Regions from separate parts of the Homo sapiens genome. Here regions 1, 2, 3, 4, 5 and 6 are each linked to region 7. Evidence: promoter capture Hi-C in 16 types of primary human blood cells and fetal thymus (Javierre and others, 2016). All regions are on one chromosome and are shown on one strand. The core of a region is centred on a gene start or on the middle of the fragment in contact, and the rest is flanking DNA. Distances in the headings are between cores, read along the strand shown. Region 1 overlaps RNF44 (ring finger protein 44). Region 2 holds the start of N4BP3 (NEDD4 binding protein 3). Region 3 has its middle 6.9 kb from the start of GMCL2. Region 4 holds the start of NHP2 (NHP2 ribonucleoprotein). Region 5 has its middle 40 kb from the start of N4BP3. Region 6 overlaps EIF4E1B (eukaryotic translation initiation factor 4E family member 1B). Region 7 holds the start of MXD3 (MAX dimerization protein 3).

Region 1 (2,700 bases), core at 52-2,551, 780 kb before region 7:
CGCCCCGGAGCCCAGGTGCAAGTCAGCCCAGCAGGCCTGCCTCCCAGCCGCCCCGGAGCCCACGTGCAAGTCAGCCCGGTGGGCCTGCCTCCCAGCTGCCTGGGAGCCCAGATGCAGGTCGGCCCAGCGGGTCTGCCTCCCAGCTGCCCTGGAGCCCAGGTGGGGGTCGGGGTGGCACTCACCACACCAAAGGACAGCTCCTGGTGCAGCGGATCGTGGGGCAGGTAGTGCAGGGGCACCGACGGGGAAAGGGCTGGGCCAGGCGCAGAGGTGGAGTAGGTGAAGCTGCCCAGGGAGGGCTGGTCCCCACGCAGGTCCACGTCGTTGTCGAGCCGCTGGAGGGGCTGGAAGAACCAGCGCCGGGTCAGCAAGTCAGTGAGACGAGGCTGTCCTCACCCTGCCTCCCCCCACGCCATCTCCCTCCAGCATCGGACCCATGCCGACTCACCATCCGAGGGTGCTGGGTCTGCAGAGACACAAACTGCCCCAGGGGCGCCATGTGGGTGGGCTGGGGGGGTGGGGCCGGTGGTGGGGGGTGCAGGATGTAGTGGTCACTGGAGATGAGGTGGGGGTAGGCCTGATAGGGCACAGGCAGCTGCTGCATGGTGCACGCCTGGATAAGCTGCCAAGAGAGGGGGCAGGGGGCTGAGAACGTTCTCCTGGGCTCTGGGCCAGGTCTACGCCATGCCACCCAGCAAAAGGCCCCCACCGGGCACACACCCAGCAGCTCCAGGGTCTGTATAAGAAACCCTGTGGAAGGCCCATCCCTGTCCTAGGCCACCCAGGCAGGACACTCCACTGTTAAGGCCCACAGCCTCAACTCCTGGGCCTCTGCCAAGCTGTGAGGCAGGTACAGGGGTACTGGAAGGTTCCTGAACCTTGAAACACTCTATTACCAAATGTGAACACGCGTATGCTTTCCTGGGGAGGCCAGGCAGGCGCTCTGACAGCCTGGATGGCTGGATAGCTCAGCCCAGTTCAGGGCTGCCCTGGGCCCGCTGAGCCGCTGGCCTGTGCCTGGGGCTTGCAGCTGGTGGAGGAGGAGCTAGAAACACTCACTCACCGGGGGCGGGAGGCAGCAGAGGGGGTAATGCTGCCCACTGAACATCACGGAGCATGCTGGGAGCTGCTGGGCACTGCAGCCAGGGATGTGCTGGCCTGTAGGCAAGGGGAAGCCTTGGGTCGTCACTGTGGTGACCGTGTAGGACAGAGGGACAGGTCCCTGGTGCACCTGTGGGTGGAGAGAACGCCGGGAAAGTATGAAAAGGAAGCTGACCGCGAGGGCTACTCTCAGGAGAAATCATCCTGCCACATCCAGCTGCCGGCTCCCTTCCCTTCTCCACGGCGGCCTACCTCAGTGCAGACCAGACTGTGCCTCTACTCCCAGGCCCCCGGGGCAGAGAAAGCCCCGTGGGAATCTAGCTCTGCTAGTCACCCAGTGTGGCCCTTTCCCCGGGCCTCAGTTTACCTACCTGTAAAGCAGGGCCAATAATGCCTCCCTGGAACGTGAAATGAAGCAAGCTAGGTGAAATCTAGGCCTTGCTGCCTCTGCCTCTCAGACTGGCTCACAGGGCCAGGGGCACAGGGGATGGGGTTCTGCCTACCTGCTCGTGGAGATCAACCATGAACGGGCTCTGCTGGGTGGCTGGGTGCAGCATTCGGGGGCTCCCGCCGGCAGGAGCCGAGGCTCGGCGCTCCTCTACGGGGAGGTGTGGAGGTCGGGACGGCGGCTGCTGGGAGGGTAAGCGCTCATCCCGGGCAGGCGGGCTGGCCAGGGGGCCCTCGAGGCCAGGGCTGCACCACAGAGAGGAGGCCCCGATAGGACTGAGGGGGGCCACTCGTGCACAGAGCAGGGAGAGAAGCCAGGGTGACTCCCCCCATGGGGAGGGAAGGCAGCTCAGGGCCCTGCGCCCCACCCCTGCTGGCCCCCATGCCCCAGCACCAGGACTGGGAGGCTCCTTCCTACCTTCCCCAGAGCTGGCCCGGGGTGCTGCCAGGTCCCGCAGAGAATCGCCGCTGGCCCACGGGGGCGGAGGGTGGCCACCTAGTCACTGCCAGAGCCCATGGTCGCATCGGGGGGGCAGGGGGGTGGAGGGGCTGGGCCGGGACTCACAACCCTAGGAGGCAAGGAGACAAGAAGACTGAGGCACCTGGCCAACATGGTGAAACCTCGTCTCTGCTAAAAATACAAAAACTAGCCAGGCATGGTGGTGGACACCTGTAATCCCAGCTACTTGGGAGGCTGAGGCATGAGAATCGCTTGAACCCGGGAGGCGGAGGTTGCAGTGAGCTGAGCTGAGATCGCACCACTGCACTCTAGTCTGGTGACAGAGCGAGACTCCCGTCTCAAAAAAAAAAAAAAAAAAAGAAAGAAACTGAGGCACAGAGAAGTCCAGGCGCTTGTGCCATGAGGGGTCAGGAGACAGAACCAAACCTCTGCAGTGTGACCCCAGGGACCAATGGTGTTCAGCCGTGCCCCTCCTCCGAGCCCTGGGGTCCAGTGCTGACACGCCAGGACAGCTCAGCCTGCCAGCACCCAGGCCTCACCCTCCTGCTGTGTGAAATGGGACCCAGTCCCCCTCAGTTGCGGAGCTCAGCGAGCTGGCCAGCGTGCTTCCAAGCCAGTGGGTTCCTGGTAGGCTCCTGCTGGGCGGGGTCTCAGGGCACCCTGTCTTGGAAAGGGGCTTAGGGCCAGACCTT
Region 2 (2,700 bases), core at 135-2,634, 800 kb after region 7:
TCTGTTTGTCTGGATTTACTTATTATAAATGGCATCATTAACACATGTGGGCTTTGTGTCTGGTTTCTTTCACTTGCCATGTTTTGGAGGTTTATCCATGTTGTAGCAGGTATCATCAGTGTTTCATTCCTCTTTTTCTTTTCTTTTCTTTCTTTTTTTTTTTGAGACAGGCTTACGCCATCATCCAGGCTGGAGTGTAGTGGCACAATCTCCGTTCATTGCAACTCTGCCTCCTGGGTTCAAGCAATTCTCCTACCTTAGCCTCCCGAGTAGCTGGGATTACAGGCTCGCTCCACCATGCCTGGCTAATGTTTGGTGTTTTTGGTAGAGATAGAATTTCGCCATGTTGGCCAGGCTGGTCTCAAACTCCTGACCTCAAGTGAGCCGCCTGCCTCGGCCTCCCAAAATGCTAGGATTACAGGGGTGAGCCACCACATCAGGTCTTTTTTTTTTTAAGATAGAGATGGAGTTTTGTGAGTTGCCCAGGCTGTTCCTGAACTCCTGGCCTCCAAAAGTGCTGGGAGAGTTCAGACATGAGTCATCACATGGCGTTCATTTCTTTTTTATGGCTGAATAATATTCCACTGAATGGATCTACCATTGTTTGCTTACACCCTCATCAATTGTTAGTTTGGGCTGTTTCCACCTTTTGGCTCTTTGACTATTGTGACTAGTACTGCCAAGAACATTACTTGTTTGAGGACTATAATTGCCGGATCATATGGTAACTCTATGCTTAACTTTTGAATTAGAAACGGTGTTTTAATTTTTCGAATATGACTCCTTTACGTGTCTGTGTCTGTTTCCATGTCTTCCTACTGTCTTAGTAGGAAGCTCACGACTCATTTGCGTAATTTTTCTGGCCCCTGAAGGCACCTGATTTTGCTGCCCCTAGAATACTTTGGAGGCAAAAAGAAAATAACTCTGTGCCCAATTCAGCCAGAGTCGTGGGGTAAAATCTTTTCACTTCTCAAAGTACTACTGTGGTTCATCCCCAAAGGGGGGAAATCAGGTTTTCCGGAGAGGAGGCGGCTACAATTAGGGAGGTGAGGGACCTCACGCGCCTCTTCCTTAGAGGAGGCGGGCGAGGCGAACGGCGGAGGAGGAGAAGCGGGGGCGCTGTGCGCTCTCTGGGGCGTGGGCCGCGCTCGGGGCTGCCCACCCCTCGGGAACGAGCCGGGGCGCTCAAGGAGGCAGCGACGCGAGGCGCAGCCGGTCCAGGTTTCGCCCGCCACCGCCGTGCGGCGCCTCTGCGGGTCAGGGCCGGGGGCGCGGTCGGGGCCGGGCGGGGCCCAGGTTGGCTCGCGGGTAGGCGGCCCCGCCCCCCACATCCGGGGGCCGGGGCCGGGCTGTGGGCTTGCCGCGCGCCGGTGAGTCAGGCCGGGTTTTCCCTCCGCCTTTGGGGCAGGCGATCGAGCGCCGCGGAGCGCGTCCCTCCCTCGCCAATCCGGCTCCGGCGCCGGCGCCCGCCCGCGTTTTCCCGGCGCCTGCCGCTCCGCCGCTCCGACCCGGCACGCAGTCCCGGCCCGAGCCGACGCCTTGCAGGAGGGTTCAAATCCGCGCGGGGGAGCTGCGACGCGCAAGGGCTGCGGAGCCGCGGGCCGGCGAGCGCGTCGCCACCATGGTAAGTGGGGCGCGCGAGGGGCTGGGGACCCGGGCTGGACTCGGGGGGTGGGGAGGGGTGGGGCGGGTCGCCAAGGTCTTGTTTTCGGGCGTCCTTGGCAAAGCTGCTGTCCCGCTGGCCGAGGCTCCCGTCTGAGAGATGGGCGGGGGTGGCAAGGTGCGGCGTGCGCCCAGGTGTCCCCTGCTCCCGGTCACCGAGGCACCGGATCGGGGACCGACCCCGATGCTCCGCTGGAGGGGCAGGCGGCAGGCTACCTTGCTCTCCCCAACCCCTGCAAACGCGCTTTCCAGGGAGCAGCGCGCGGGACCCCTGCGCCACGGCTGGGTGGGGCAGGCGTCCTTGGCGCCGGCGTCTGACCTCGGCCTCCGCCCCCCGGCCCAGCCGCTCCCGGCAGGCCTCAGGGAGGGGCCAGGAGGAGACGCGCCTCCCACCCCGCCCCCCAGGTAGCTCCGGGACCTCCCGCAGCTTTGGGGAACCCTCGCCTTCACCCCTGCTTTCCTGACACAAATTCCGTGGGGATGCAACCTCGTTTGCCCCTCTGACTTCCCCATGAGATCTCTCGCTTCCTCCCACACCTCCTTTATCCCCCAACCCCCTGCCGGTCCACCAGGCTGCAGCTGCGGGTCTGCGGGTAGGGGACATTCCTAGGTCTTGACCGCCAGAGCACCCGGTCCAGTCCCGGCCACAGCCTTTGGCCCAAGTGAGGGCTGGCCTGGGGACAAGCCGAAATCAGGGCCCTGGCTGTATCCAGAAAGAGAACTGAGACCCGTTGCCTCCCACTGGGCCACCCCCCGACCCCAACCACATAGGAACAGATTGGGCCTGGCTGTCCTCGGGAGGGAGCGGACGCAGGAGGCCATCCTGGGCGCGGTTATCAGCCTCCTCCCAGGGCCCTCCCAGGCAGGGCTTCTCTACCGGCTGGCAGCGTGTGGTGTGCATGTGCCAGACTGTGAATGAATGCGGCCAGCCTGCCTCTGCCACCGCCTCTAGAGCTAGCATAGCGACTCGGAGTCCCCATGAGGCAGGTTTCCTCTATTTCTTCCTGACCTGGGGGGCAGCAGGAGGGATTCCAGGCC
Region 3 (2,700 bases), core at 117-2,616, 880 kb after region 7:
GAAGTTCCAGATTGGACGGCTGCATCTGGCAGCTTCTGGTGAGAGCTGTGTGCTGCACCAAAATGTGGCAGAGAAATGGAAGGCGGACCAGGCACCTGGAGGAAAGGGGGAAAACACGAGGGGCGACCTTGCTTGATGACAACCCAACTCTGAAGGTAACTGATCCAGACCCAAGAGAGTGAGAACTCACTTCTATGGGACTTGCATTAATATCCTGTCGTGAAGGCCCATCCCTCATGATCCAAACACCCCTGAAAGGTCCCCCCACGTCTCAATGCCGTTATATTGGCAATTAAATTTCAACATGAGTTTTGGTAGGGGCAAACCACATCCAAACCATAGCATCTTCTCACTGTTGAGTCACTTTTTAATGTGGCTATTAGAAAAATTTAAATGACATGTGTGTTTGCACTTGTGGCTGTTTTGCATCCGTATCTGGTATACAGTGCTGCTCTAGTAGTGAAGGTGGAGCGCCCCGAGTGAGATGACCCCGATTTGCCTCGGGGGGAAGTGGAAGGGCGTGGCCTGGTGTTCAGCAGTGGAGTGTGGGATCACGGAGGGACAGCTGGATCTCATTAAGGTGAAGTGGAGGGGCAGGGTTCACGGAGGCACACACTGAGGAAGCTTCTGCAGCAGTGAGTTGAGGGAGTGGTTAGGCTTTGTGGGTAGGGGACTGAGCTGTTTGAGGGTATCTGTAAGAGGCTGTGCAGCAAGGCAGGTGGCAAGAAGCAAGATGTTGGCTGGGCATGGTGGCACATGCCTGTAATCCCAGCACTTTGGGAGGCCAAGGCAGGAGGATTGCTTGAGGCTGGGAGTTTGAGACCAGCCTGATCAACATAGTGAGACCACGTCTCTATAAAAAATAAATCAATAAATAAAATTTAAAAAGCAAGATGTTGCCAAGCAGTTGGCCAAGTGGTGAGTATGAAAGAGAGAGACCCTGCCCTGAGGGCTTTCTGTCTCTCACCCACCTGGATCAGCACACAGCATGTATTTGTCTTCCACTCCAAGCCTACATCCTGGCCCCTGTTGGAGAAGGGCTCTGACCAGTTCACTGGCAGAATATGAAAATTGTATGTTAAGACATGCACGGCATGAAGCCCTAAGAAGCCAAGAATCCTTTCTTTTCACAGCAGGAGAAGGCCTCTGGCTGTTTCCCTGTGTTGACTGGAGGCTGAGTCTCTGTCCTCGACACCCCACCCGCTGCTGCCTCCTCTGCCCTGCCTGGGGAGCCCTGCCTTGCCTGGCCCTGTGCTGGGAACGGCCAGAGCTGGGGCTTCTTGCGTTTCCTGTTCACACCCGCAGAGCCAGCTTTGCCTTCCCCTCTGCTGTGCAGGGAGAAGGGAGGTGGGAGGTGCGGAGGGGATGGTCCTGTCTGTGGCTTCCTATTTCTTGGCTGGCAGGAGAAAGGCAGGCTTTCTGTGTCTATGTCTCTGTGGTCTTTCAGACTCAGCACTTGGGTAGGAAGATGAAAACCTCGGAGTGCCCCTTGTCTCTTTCCCTTGGGTCTGATTAGACCAAAGGCTGGTGTGGTGGAGGAGGTGAAAGGACCTGGCACGGGGAGGCTGGAAGCCCAGCGCTGCTCTGCTCACTTTCCCCTCTGCCAGCCTTTGTTACCAAAAGGTCTGGACTTGATCTTGGAAATGCATCATTTCTTGATCCTTCTCTAGCCTTTAGGGACAAATATACTAGAAGAAAATGGTCAAGACAATTGGTGCCACCAGCAGGAGGCATAGCAAGGAAGCAGGGGGTGAAAGGGTTTCTCCTTGAGAGAAGCAAGCCTCTGAGTCCAAGGCCCTCCACCAAGCGGCTCTGGTCCAGTGTTCCAGCCTTATTGCCCATCCTGCTCCATGTATGGAGTTGGGGGTTGTCACCACACACAAACACAACGTTCTGCCAACTCACCCTCCTCGATGTCTCTGTTCATCCCCTCCTTCCCATTTCCTCCACTGGACCACCGCCATAGCAGTATTCACTGACTTCCAGTTTCCTGCGGGATAAATCTGAACCCTTTGTCGTGGCACCCAAAGCCCTTGCCCAGCCGCGCTGTCCCAGCTCCTCTTCATCGTGTGGAGCAACTTGCAGTTCTCCAAGCAGCCTCTGCTTTCTCAAGCTTGGAACCTGAGCTGTGTCGTCTTCTCTGCCTGCACCCCTTCTTTTCCATCTCTGCTGGAGAACCCCTGCTTAGCCTCAGTAAAGATGTTTAAGGGACAGTTATGCATGAGGGTTTAGAGTTCACAGACCCAGTCTGTCCTGGAGGTCAAGGGCATGTTGCTGGCAATTGCAGCGTCAACAATTCAATTGAGTAAATACATGAGTGAATAGATGAATTGTTGTGGAATCAGAAACTGAGGCTCGGCCGGGCACGGTGGCTCACGCCTGTAGTCTCAGCACTTTGGGAGGCCGAGGCGGGCGAATCACGAGGTCAGGAGATTGAGACCATCCTGGCTAACACGGTGAAACCCCATCTCTACCAAAAAAAATACAAAAAGTTAGCTGGGCATGGTGGCGGGTGCCTGTAGTTCCAGCTACTCCGGAGGCTGAGGCAGGGGAATGGTGTGAACCCAGCAGGCGGAGCTTGCAGTGAGCCGAGATTGCACCACTGCACTCCAGCCTGGGCGACAGAGTGAGAGTCTGTCTCAAAAAAAAAAAAAAAAAAAAAGAAACTGAGGCTCAATCTGGGCACGGTGGCTCATGCCT
Region 4 (2,700 bases), core at 137-2,636, 840 kb after region 7:
ATTGATCTCTTGAGCACCTACAGTTTCACTTCTTGGGATAAAGCAAGGAGGCCCTGTTCTGAAGGAGCTTACCATCTGGCCTGAGAGGGTGATAAAGGGAAGAAAAATGTAAACAAGGTTCAAACTTTGATAAATGCCATTAAGAAAAGTGGGGTGATGAAGTTATCATTGCACTCTGTTATTTTCCTTCATGGCTATCTATCACAACGTGTAATTAGTTGTGTGTGTGTCATTATCTGATGAATGAATGTCACTGTTTCCCCCATAACACAGTGCCTGAAAAAGAGTACATTCAATTGTTAAGGCTGCCAGGCGCGGTGGCTCATGCCTGTAATCCCAACGCTTCGGGAGGCTGAGGCAGGAGGATTCCTTGAGCCCAGGAGTTCAAGACCAGCCCGGGCAACATGGCGAGACTCCTCTGTCTCTGCAAAACAACAATAACAACAGCCAGGCGTGGCGCAAGCCGGTGGTCTCAGCTATTCGGGAGGCTGAGGTGGGAGGATCGCTTGAGCCCAGGGGGACGAGGCTGCAGCGAGCTGTGATCGCACCACCGCACTCCAACCTGGGTGAGAGCTAGACCCATCTCAAAAACAAACAAAAACGTTAACGTTCAGTTCCTTAAATACAGAGCCGGAGAGGGGTCATCCCTAGGACTGAGATTCAGGGCTGAGAGGATTAGGGCGGGGGCCGGAGGTAATCTGAGGCAAGGAGCGGAGCCCGGGGAGGAGGGTCCCTGAATTAATGAAGGTGGGTTTACTCTAAGGGACTTTGCTTACACAATTCGCTTCACTTTGGAATTCACTTTGAGCTGGTATACGTGGTGTACCGGTATTGTCGTACCGGTATTGTACCAAAGGGACTTTACCGACTGCTTGATTGGCTTCTGTATATGGGGCTAGGTCAGAGTTAACCTTTTTACTGCGCGCCTACTAAGTAGAGATTTCTCCGTTAACGTTTAGAAATGCAAAATCCAGAGGAAGGAAGGTTCTTACCCTTTTTCTCCTTTGTTGACAAATTTCTGAACCTCTTTCACCCCGCGCCGAATCTGCTTCTGCTTCACCGCTGCAACGACAGAAGAGTCGGTCGGGGGCCTCGCTCAGCCACCCGCGCACCCATCCCACCCGCGCACCCATCCCGGCCACGCCGCCGTCCGCCTCACCTTTCTTGATGCATTTGTAGAGCTTCCGCGTGAGGCGGCGAGAAGCCAGGGGCTGCGCGATGGGGTTCTGGTTGACCAGCAGCTCCTGGTAGGTGCGCTCCCCGGAACACGCCTCCGCCTGAGCCTCGGGCCCGTCGGGATCTGCCTTTATTTTGGTCATCGCAGCGGCCGCTGAAACCTAGTCCCAGGGAGGCGAGCCCACGCGGTCCACAGCTTTAGGCATCACTTCCAGGTCATCAGCTGCGCGAGAAGCCGCCGTACAACACGGCCAATCAGGAAAGGAAGTCTCCGACTCAGCCCAATCGTTGACGCCCAGCTTCGTAACTACGGAGAGCGGAGAGGGGCGGAGTCATGGTCCTTAAGGCGGGGCCATCCCCGGACCAAGGGACTGGGCGGAACCGATTAGGGCGGAGCGGAGGGAATGTGAGGCAAGGGGCGGAGCCCTGGGAATCGGGGCCGGAGAGGGCGGGGCTCTGGGTGCTGGAAAGGCTGCCTCGTTTTTTTTCTTTTTTGAGGCAGAGTTTCGCTCTTATTGCCCAGGCTGGGGTACAGTGGCGCAATCTCGACTCACTGCAACCTCCGCCTCCCGGGTTCAAGCGATTCTCCTACTTCAGCCTCCCGAGTAGCTGGGATTGCAGGCATGCGCCACCACGCCCAGATAATTTTGTATTTTTACTAGAGACAGGGGTTCTCCATGTTGGTCAGGCTGGTCTTGAACTCCTGACCTCAGGCGATCCGCCCGCCTCGGCCTCCCAAAGTGCTGGGATTACAGGCGTGAGCCACCGCGCCCGGCCTAAGGCTGCCTCCTTTCTTGCATAATTTTTCTTTGTTTTCTGACCCCTGGACCCGGCTGCGCAGGTGTGAAAGATACAGAGCAAGGGATGACCCCACTGACCTGCGTCTGCACCGCTTTTCCACAGATAGCGTGTGGCTCACTCTCATCCCGCAGGGTTCCGTTTCAGTGTTTCCCATGGGAGAGGTTTCCCTGGTGATTTTATCTAAAATTGCCGTCCCCTCTCTCTCCAAACCAGCATCCCTTCACCCGCTATTTTCCCGCAGTTCTTACCATTGCCTGACGCTACACATGCAGAGGGCCTAGCCGAGAAGCCAGCCGGGGCTGAGGGAAGGACGGCTCCAGCGAAGCCGGGAACAGCGGAGGGAAGGCTTTGGGGACTGAGCTCCCTGCCGTGCAGGGTGAGAGCTATGAGGAGCTACCCTTTGGACGGGTCTGTAGAAGGTAAAGGGACAGAGCTGCCAGGGCGTGGGGGGCGGTGGCAGGCCGAGATCCAGTGGATCTTGGTATCTCTGATTAGCCTCTTCCACTATATTTTGGAACTCTGGATGGATATTAATTAGATAATCGCTGCAAATTACTAATTTGTAATACTAATTACCTTTGATCCTGATGTGGCAGGCCTGCCATTTTTGTGTTGCTGGAACAGGCCAGTAAGTAGAAACTTAGAAGTGTTCCGGTAGTTGTGGGTGGGAACACAGGTCAGTTAAACCAACTTAAAAATTGGCCTTTCCCGGGTGTGGTGACT
Region 5 (2,700 bases), core at 106-2,605, 760 kb after region 7:
AGTGAGACTCCATCTTAAAAAAAATGAATTTAAAAACTTTTTAAAACTATGTGTATTCTCTTGCATATTTTTAAGATGATATATGAAATTTTCACTATACATTTAAATTGTTGCAAGAGATGTAATTTCCCAACTATTGTAATGATTGACATTTAAAATAAAAACTATTTCATTCATCTTTTAAATGGACCCAATGAAATCTAAGTATTGAAACAGTTTCTTACTACCACCAGATTTTTTTTTTTTTTTTTTTTTTTGAGACAGAGTCTCACTTTGTTGGCCAGGCTGGTGTGCAGTGGTGAGATCTTGGCTCACTGCAACCTCCATCTCCCAGGCTCAAGCAATTCTCCTGCCTCAGCCTCCCGAGTAGCTGGGATTACAGGTGCCCATCAACATGCCTGGCTAATTTTTGTATTTTTAGTAGAGATAGGGTTTCGCCATGTTGGCCAGACTGGTCTTGAACTCCTGACCTCAGATGATCCGCCCTACTCGGCCTCTCAAAGTGCTGGGATTACAGGTGTGAGCCACCATGCCTGGCCTCTTTTTATAACAGAAATAGAAAAGAAAATATTAAATATTTTATATCCAGGGTGACTTCCCACCTCCCCTTTTGTCTAGAAATGCATTCCTCTTGAGGGAATCCCCTAGGAGCAAAGCAAAGAAGGCTGTGGCTTATGTGTGTAATCCCAGCACTTTGGGAGGCCAAGGCAGGAGGATCACTGGAGCCCAGGAGTTTAAGCACCAATCTGGGCAACATAACAAGACCTCCTCTCTACAAAAAAAATAAAAAATAAAACTCAGGTGTGGTGGCAAGTGCCTATAGTCCCAGCTACTCAAGAGGTTGAGGTGAGGGGATACTTTGAGCCCAGGAGTTCGAGGTTACAACAAGCTATGATTACACCACTGCACTCCAGTCCAGGTGACCCTATCTCAAAAAATAAATATATAAAAATTTTAATTGTTTTTCATTTAAAGAAAATATTAAACATTTTAAAGATGAAATAAAAGGAAAATATATATATTCCATTATATGATTTGACGAAAGAGTTTGGCTCCGTTCTTGACTAACACACAGCATCTGAAATAAATCTCACAAAAATATCATCTGTGAGTTCCAGCCAACATGTCTGAAAACGCTGGTATTCCCAGAGAACAGGCCGGCTCCACGCAAGACTCAGCACCACCACCCTCTGCTGCTCCCGATGCTCTGAGGCTTGTCCTGCTAAGGACGCGTCCTAAGATGAGCGCTGAGAACAGGGACAGAAGCGCTTCCAAAGGGGCTGGTATTTTCTATGTAGCTCTCTTGGCTTTGCTCTTAGGGGATTCCCTCCAGAAAGATGCATTTCTAGACAAAAGAGGAGGTGTGAAATGCAAAGCAGTGAACTAAATTTAAATTGCCATCTTAGCCGGGCATGGTGATTTACGGCCGTAGTCCCAGCTACTTGGTAGGCCGAGGCAGGAGAATCGCTTGAGCCTAGGAGTTCAAGACCAGCCTGGGCAACATAGCAAGGTCCTGTCTCTACAAAAATAAACATAAAAATTAAAAAATTAGCCGGGCCTGGTGGTGCATGCCTGGAGTCCCAGTTGCTAGAGAGGCTAAAGTGGGACGATTGCTTGAGCCCGGGAGTCTGAGGCTGCAGTGAGCCATGATTGCTATTGTGCTGTATTCAGCCTGGGCAAGAGAGTGAGACCCTGTCTCAAAAAAAAAATTGCGTTGAATTCCCTAACCTCATTCCCATGCCCCTACCTTCAGAACTTCATCAAAGGGGGACAACCCCACACAGTGACATCTGGGGCAGGCATCATGGAGAAGAGAGACTGTCACCTCAGATGCTGTTCCAGCCTGGCCAACTTTAGGCAAGAAGACATATGGAAGTTGAGTCCTGGAAACTGATTCCCTAAAGCTCTGCCTGTCACTGGAATGTAAACATACCATCCAGTATCACTGCAATATTTTCTGGCACTACCCAAATTTTCAAGATACATCAGCTAAGAATCATAGATAAATCTTTTACAAAAATGTTTTAGGCCAGGCGCAGTGGCTTTCACCCGTAATCCCAACACTTTGGGAGGCTGAGGCGGTCGGATCACCTGAGGTCAGGAGTTCGAACCCAGCCTGGCCAACATGGCGAAACCCCGTCTCTACTCAAAATACAAAAATTAGCCAGGTGTTAAATTAGCTGGGCATGGTGGTGCATGCCTGTAGTTCCAGCTACTTGGGAGGCTGAGGCATGAGAATCGCTTGAACCTGGAAGGCAGAGGTTGCAGTGAGCCGAGATCATGCCACTGCACTCCAACCTCTGTGACAGAGTGAGACCCCGCCTCAAAAAAAATTTTTTTTTAATTCCATATATTAGTGATATGGAAGGGAAGTGCTGGGAAGGGAAGAGTGTGGTCCCTTTAAATGATACAGAAGAGGGGAAAGGAAGTGCTGGGTAGAGGAGTTCATGGTCCCTGGCTAGGACTCCACCCCCAGCCTGTGCCCACGGACCTAGGTAAGGACAGGCATTTTTGTTTTCCTGCCCAAATGTTGCATTTCCCAAGACCACCCTGGCCTGCCACACCCCTATCTTGTGCCTGGAAAAAACCCCAAGACTGTAGCCAGAAGACACACAGGAGGCTGGATGTGGAGAGGAACACACCGACAGGCATGCTGGCAGGCCATCGACTGGTAGAATGACGTAGCGTTTGGCTGGGGCA
Region 6 (2,700 bases), core at 4-2,503, 670 kb before region 7:
GCTCACAACCCATCCTGACTCCTTTTTTTGGCTCAGGTGAGTGAAGCTGAGGGTGGAATCCGAGAGTGGGAGGAGGAGGAGAAGGAGGAGGAGGCAGCAGAGAGGACGCCCACAGGAGAAAAGTCTCCAAACTCTCCCAGGACTTTGCTGTCTCTGAGAGGGAAGGCCCGGACGGGGGGCCCCATGGAAGTCAAGCTGGAGCTGCACCCCTTGCAGAACAGGTAGGCAGGAGCCTGCGAGTGGAACACAGCCCCTTGCTTTCAGGCCAGCCTCTGTGCTGGCAGCGTGGCCTTGGGCAACCCCGCCTCTCTTGGCCCTAGCTCTTCATCCGTGGGAGGCCAGGGCTGACCTAAGCCTTGGGCCCTGTTGGCCCTTCCAGCCCTAACCCCGCAGAGACTGTGGGTCAAACACCCCCACTCCTCCCCTGCCCTTCAGGACAACTGATTTCATTCACCTGAGAGGGGAATGCTGTGCCCCAAATCTCATCTCCCAGTTCGCCCTTGAAGGGGAGGGTCCTCCCTGTCAGTCCAGGTGCCCCGGGGGTGGACTTGGCTCTCTGCTTCCTCCTGGCTGCCTCCCCCTTCCCCTACCAGGTGGGCTCTGTGGTTCTTCAAGAATGACCGCAGCCGGGCCTGGCAGGACAACCTGCACCTGGTCACCAAGGTGGACACTGTGGAGGACTTCTGGGCGTGAGTGTCTGTCCCCAGTGGGGCTAGAGTTGGGGGGCTCTGAGCTCTGGGCTCCCTCTCTCCGGGTTGAGCCAGCCCTCCCTAGGGCCTTTCAGCCTTTGTGAGGGCTGGGGCTTTGTGGGTTCTGCCCAGGGGGTATAGGGCACAACCACCCCCCACCCCACCACCTTCTTTGGGCTCAGGGAGAGAGCCTGGGGAGCAGGAGAAGCAGGAAGCTGACCTTGACTCGGCCACTCCAGGGCTTTGTGACCTGGGCAAGTTCCTTCCCCTCTCTGAACCTGTCTCAGCTGCAAAGGGAGGACTCGGCTGCCTCAGTGTCCGGGTGCTCACGGGAGTGGCTCTGAAAAGGGCTACACAAGCCCTAGGGAGGGTGAGAAGGCCTCGGCTGTAGCTGGAGGGGGGAGCACCAGGGGGTCTAAAACCCTCCCCAGGGGTTGGCTCAGCCTTCACTGGGAAGGCTCTGTGGAAAAGGTGGGTCTTGAGAGTTTGGATAAACGGGAGTGGAATCCCAGGTGGCAGGCCAGTGTAAGCAAAGGCTTGGAGGCCATGGGGTCGGATGAGGAGTTGGGAGGGCTGAACCCAGTTGGAACCAGGCCCTAAAAAGCCTTGACTTTTGGCATGGGGTCGGGGGCTCTGTCCAGGCTATACAGTCACATCCAGCTGGCCAGCAAGCTCTCCTCTGGCTGTGACTACGCCCTCTTCAAGGTAAGCTCTGCTCTCCTCTTTCCCTCCCGCAAAGGGACAAGGGGTTGATCCCTCCCGGACTCCACTGCGTTAATCCCTCAGAGGGGTGGGGGTGGGGAGCTACGGGCCACCTCTCAGCAGAGTTGTGGTTTCTGACTGGAGGAAATGCTCTACAGGAGCCCGGACAGAGTAGGTCAGGCCCAAGCCGCACCTTGGAGGACCTTAAGAGGCGGGAAGAGGGAGAGGGAGAGATTTCTGACCTGGCTCCTTAACTAGGGAAGGGCATCAGAATTGCTTGAGGACACTCATTGATGCCACACCCATCCCTGGAGGGCTGACATTGTGTTTAGAGATCTCCCCAGTGACTTCTGCCCTGCCTGGGAACCATGCAGCCAAGCCTGGGATGTCCCCCTTGCCTGCATTGGGGTCTGCCCCTGAGGCTTCCTTAATCCACCCCGATTTGAATGCTTGTCTTAAGGAACTCAGTAAAAGAGACATGCACATATACAAGGCTATACAAGGTGACCAGTGCTGTCTGTCGGGGGGAGCTGAGTGGCTGGGGGTGGAACCTGCTTGCACTGAGGGAAGGGAGGATAAGAGAATCTGGCCTACTTAGGGCCTCAGCAGAGAGCGGATAAGGCCGGGATGGTGGGTGGGTCCCCATTTCCCTTTGAACACAGGGAGGCAGTTGACTTGCCATCTGCCTTGCAGGATGGCATCCAGCCCATGTGGGAGGACAGCAGGAATAAACGGGGTGGCCGCTGGCTGGTCAGCCTGGCCAAGCAGCAGCGCCACATTGAGCTGGACCGGCTGTGGCTGGAGACGGTGAGTTGGAGGAGGAGGGTCCTCAGGGGAAGAGACGGGCTGTGTGGGTCTCATGGTGGCAGTGGTCTCAAGGATGGCAGGCCAGTCCCTATGTCCCAGCCGGTGATCTCACAACCCCCTACTTCGGGTCCAGCTGCTGTGTCTGATCGGGGAGAGCTTTGAGGAACACAGCAGAGAGGTATGTGGGGCCGTCGTCAACATCCGCACCAAGGGGGACAAGATCGCTGTGTGGACGAGGGAGGCGGAAAACCAGGCGGGCGTGCTGCACGTTGGGTGAGGAGGGTCTCTGGCACAGGGTGGGGACTTGGGTCTCTGCTAGAGGGAAGGTGGGTGGAGGGGGCTTGGCCTGCATGGGAGACCTCTGAAAGTCTCCATAGCCTCCCTCCCTTCTGCCTTGCCCACCTGTATGGAAGGTCTGGCGTTCAGATTTCTAACTTTCTCTTACGGCAGTGCAGCTCTCCTTTTGCATTAAGGGGGTCATATTTTGGGTTTCCACATGGGT
Region 7 (2,700 bases), core at 79-2,578:
CAGCCCCACCTTGCCGGCCACAGGAATGGCAGGGGAGGGAAGGCCAGAGGGCAGTGGCCCCTGGGGGCTGGCGCTGTCAGGGCAGGACTGGGACTCACCTGCGCTTCTCCAGTTCATTGTGCACTGACCTGCCAATGCCAGAGAGGATGAGGTGAAGGGGAATCAGCTACTGCCCATGCCCCAATCCCAGGGCCCCCAGTGGCTCAAGAGCCACTACAGATGTCTGCCCCAAACAAGTCCCCTGTGGAGAGCTCATGCTGGCCTCAGACACCAGAGTCCCCTGGCAGGGCGAGGGGAGTCAAAGACACACGGAGCCAAATGCTTAACAGAAGCCTGCCCAGGTGGGTATGAGGGCCCTAACAAGGGCGCCTGCCAGCTGGCCAGAAAGGACCTCCCAGAGGTGACAGCTAACTGCGGAAACAGATGTTTCCCAAGCCGGTACTGGAGGGAGGGGCATTCAAATAGGAGGGAACAGCATATGCAAAGGGCTGGGGAGAGGAGAGAAGAGGAGGAAGCCAGCGGGGGAGGTGAGTGGCCTGATGTGTGGGGTGCGGGAGTGCGAGTGGAAGCGGGACCCCAACTGCTGTTGGCAGTTCCCGGCACATCTAGAGGTGCTCAAGAAATAGTCCTTGAATGAATAGAAAGGTGTGAGTGTGTTTGGAGAGTGGGGAGATGGCAGGAGGGGTCTGAACGCTTCCTGGAGCGGGACACCTGGCCCAAAAGATGCAAGCAACAAGTGGGCAGAGGAGGGCCCGACCAGGGGCGGCGCCCACCCCCACCCCCACTCCCGCCGCCCCCGGCCTCCTCACCGCCCGCTGTCCTGCGCGCCAGGAGCCTGGGGGGGTCGCTTCTTCCTCCTGTGGATGGGGCCTGGACTGCGATGCGGGCACAGGGACGCATAACCATGCTCGGCCTCTGCCAGAGAGAGTCCCCGCCCGCGTCAGGCTGGGGCTGGACCTGGTCCCAGCGGCAGCCCCAGGCACAGCACGGTCAAGGAAAGGCTTTTGGCGCCAGGACCATTTCCCCCACCCGTCCCTGCTCTACCGCCCCGGGACTCCTCTCGAGTTGAGGGCGAGGCGCCCCGGGATTACTGTCCTAGGGCGGTGCATCCTTCAAGCTGGGAGCCAGGTCCAGTCCAGGCCCGTGTCAGCGAGGTCGCCGCCCGGAATTCAGCCAAGGGTCCTTCCTCACCTCTCTCACGGCGCTCCAGGAACTCGGCCGCCTGCAGCAGGACCTGGATGTTGCTGGCCAAGGGTTCCATGTCGGCGACAGCTGGCGGCGGGCCGGCCTAGGGTGCCGGCCGGAGCAAGCGGCTGCAGCACTTTTGTTACAAAGTAACTGACACGGTGCAACAAACACAGGGGCCCGCCCCGCCCCCGGGACGCCCCGCCCGCGGGAACGCCCAGCCCTTGGCTCCGCCCCTCTGGAACCCGCCACGGAGCCGCAGCCCACCCTCCGGCAGCCGCCCCGCCCCGAGTGGTCTCAGACTTTCCAGGGGCAGGTAAGGGCGCTGGCTCCAGGCCTGGCCCTGGAGCGAACCCTCAGGCTAACCGGTGCTGCTTCTTGCCCGCCTCACTCATCCACCCACGCCGGCTCATTGGCGTCTTTGATCTCAGCTTCCAGCCCCGTGCTAGTGACTAGCCCCCAACATAGCACGGCGCTCTGGGGGCCTGGTGGTCCCCTGAAAGCGCCGGGCCCAGCCGCTGCACGTGGGTGCCGCGGGGGCGGGGCCTCCGGCCGCCGCTCGCCCATTCGCACATGGCTTCTCAAGGATCGCTGTTGTCATCCTCGGGGCGGGGTCGGGGAGCCTCTGATGCCCTATTGGCTGGCGCTCTGCCCCGCCCTCTCCCGCCGCTGATCCACACGTTCGGGCGGGAAAAGAAGCAGGTTTCAAATTTGAAAACCCAAGCGATGGGGCGGGGTTGAGAGGGGAGCTGGGCCTCAATGCGCAGGCGCCGGCGGAGGGGCGGCGGACCCGGCTCCTGCCCTCCGGGGTCTGTCCCCAAGCCTGCCTGCCATCTGCCCCCGAAGGCCCCCGTGGGCCCCAGCTTCCTACTGTGTCGAATGGGAATAATATCTCGGCCCCCCTCCTCTTCTGTGAGGAAGCTGTTGTTGCTACGAAAACGTCAGTGGGGTAACAGCTTCCTCAGGCAGGCCATACCCTGGAGGCACGCGAAATGGCCTTTTCCGGGGCCTTGGGCTCTGGTATCCACGCAGTTGGGGTCCTCTCCTGTCACTGATGTCTCAGCTGTGTATGACTCAGGAGGTGACCTCCGTCTCTAAGCCTCAGGAGCCCTGCGACAGCGTTGAAGGATCAGAGCCAATGCCTCTGCGGTGCCCATGGCATGAAGGAGCCGCCCATCTCAAAGGCCAGTGCAACCAGACCGCGGCGTTTGCCTCCCAGGCAGCCCCTGCTTGCCTTACTCAGAGTCCATAAACCCTTCTTGCACCTGACTCTCCTAGCCGGCCGAAGGAGTGGCTGTGATGACTTCTAGCCTCAGCACCAGCAGGTGGGGCCACATCTGGGGACAGGAAGATGAACGCAGCTGTAGCAGGGTGGAGCATTGCTGCCAGCCACGGGCTGAGTCTGTGACTCCAGTAATCCCAAAATAGAGAGGGGAGGGAAGGTGGGAGGGATAGATGCTCTGTAAAGAGACAGTCCTGGTAAACACAAGCACATGTCAGTCAGGCCTCAGTTCC

The links. Contacts are between HindIII fragments. The CHiCAGO score rates a contact against its expected background, and 5 or more counts as called.
Region 1: a fragment that was not itself captured here is called in contact with the fragment with the promoter of MXD3 in region 7 in 1 of 17 cell types (monocytes); the score reaches 6.8 in monocytes.
Region 2: a contact is called between the fragment with the promoter of N4BP3 here and the fragment with the promoter of MXD3 in region 7, in 2 of 17 cell types (naive B cells and total CD4 T cells). The highest score is 7.7, in naive B cells.
Region 3: a fragment that was not itself captured here is called in contact with the fragment with the promoter of MXD3 in region 7 in 1 of 17 cell types (non-activated CD4 T cells); the score reaches 5.7 in non-activated CD4 T cells.
Region 4: the fragment with the promoter of NHP2 here is called in contact with the fragment with the promoter of MXD3 in region 7 in 2 of 17 cell types (total B cells and total CD4 T cells); the score reaches 6.3 in total B cells.
Region 5: a fragment that was not itself captured here is called in contact with the fragment with the promoter of MXD3 in region 7 in 6 of 17 cell types (total B cells, naive B cells, total CD8 T cells and 3 more); the score reaches 14.5 in total B cells.
Region 6: a fragment that was not itself captured here is called in contact with the fragment with the promoter of MXD3 in region 7 in 2 of 17 cell types (megakaryocytes and fetal thymus); the score reaches 5.7 in megakaryocytes.

Annotation. Positions count from the first base shown.
Region 1 is chr5:176,530,400-176,533,099 of GRCh38, forward strand. RNF44 (ring finger protein 44) reads right to left here. Exons shown (of 11, transcript NM_014901.5): 2 at 1,967-2,117; 3 at 1,605-1,794; 4 at 1,064-1,231; 5 at 449-622; 6 at 183-344. The coding sequence starts at 2,073. Among named protein-coding and RNA genes, the nearest start is that of RNF44, 5.7 kb to the right of the region's middle. The HindIII fragment of the contact is 9,510 bases long and covers 1-2,700 here.
Region 2 is chr5:178,112,148-178,114,847 of GRCh38, forward strand. It overlaps N4BP3 (NEDD4 binding protein 3), which reads left to right and starts at 1,385. Exons shown (of 5, transcript NM_015111.2): 1 at 1,385-1,624. RefSeq lists silencers at 1,125-1,674, 1,755-2,074, 2,425-2,474 and enhancers at 2,513-2,700, 2,555-2,614. The HindIII fragment of the contact is 16,661 bases long and covers 1-2,700 here.
Region 3 is chr5:178,192,964-178,195,663 of GRCh38, forward strand. No RefSeq gene overlaps it. Among named protein-coding and RNA genes, the nearest start is that of GMCL2, 6.9 kb to the left of the region's middle. The HindIII fragment of the contact is 1,489 bases long and covers 623-2,111 here.
Region 4 is chr5:178,152,499-178,155,198 of GRCh38, forward strand. It overlaps NHP2 (NHP2 ribonucleoprotein), which reads right to left and starts at 1,387. Exons shown (of 4, transcript NM_017838.4): 1 at 1,160-1,387; 2 at 993-1,062. The coding sequence starts at 1,319. The HindIII fragment of the contact is 33,810 bases long and covers 1-2,700 here.
Region 5 is chr5:178,071,786-178,074,485 of GRCh38, forward strand. No RefSeq gene overlaps it. Among named protein-coding and RNA genes, the nearest start is that of N4BP3, 40 kb to the right of the region's middle. The HindIII fragment of the contact is 3,898 bases long and covers 1-2,700 here.
Region 6 is chr5:176,643,046-176,645,745 of GRCh38, forward strand. It overlaps EIF4E1B (eukaryotic translation initiation factor 4E family member 1B), which reads left to right. Exons shown (of 9, transcript NM_001099408.2): 4 at 37-221; 5 at 594-689; 6 at 1,331-1,394; 7 at 2,085-2,198; 8 at 2,332-2,471. Among named protein-coding and RNA genes, the nearest start is that of TSPAN17, 3.1 kb to the right of the region's middle. RefSeq lists enhancers at 399-1,040, 1,041-1,680, 2,262-2,700. The HindIII fragment of the contact is 4,593 bases long and covers 1-2,700 here.
Region 7 is chr5:177,310,570-177,313,269 of GRCh38, forward strand. MXD3 (MAX dimerization protein 3) reads right to left here and starts at 1,329. Exons shown (of 6, transcript NM_031300.4): 1 at 1,192-1,329; 2 at 810-915; 3 at 99-128. The coding sequence starts at 1,261. RefSeq lists enhancers at 1-296, 554-753, 2,404-2,463 and silencers at 1,304-1,483, 1,614-2,183. The HindIII fragment of the contact is 10,591 bases long and covers 1-2,700 here.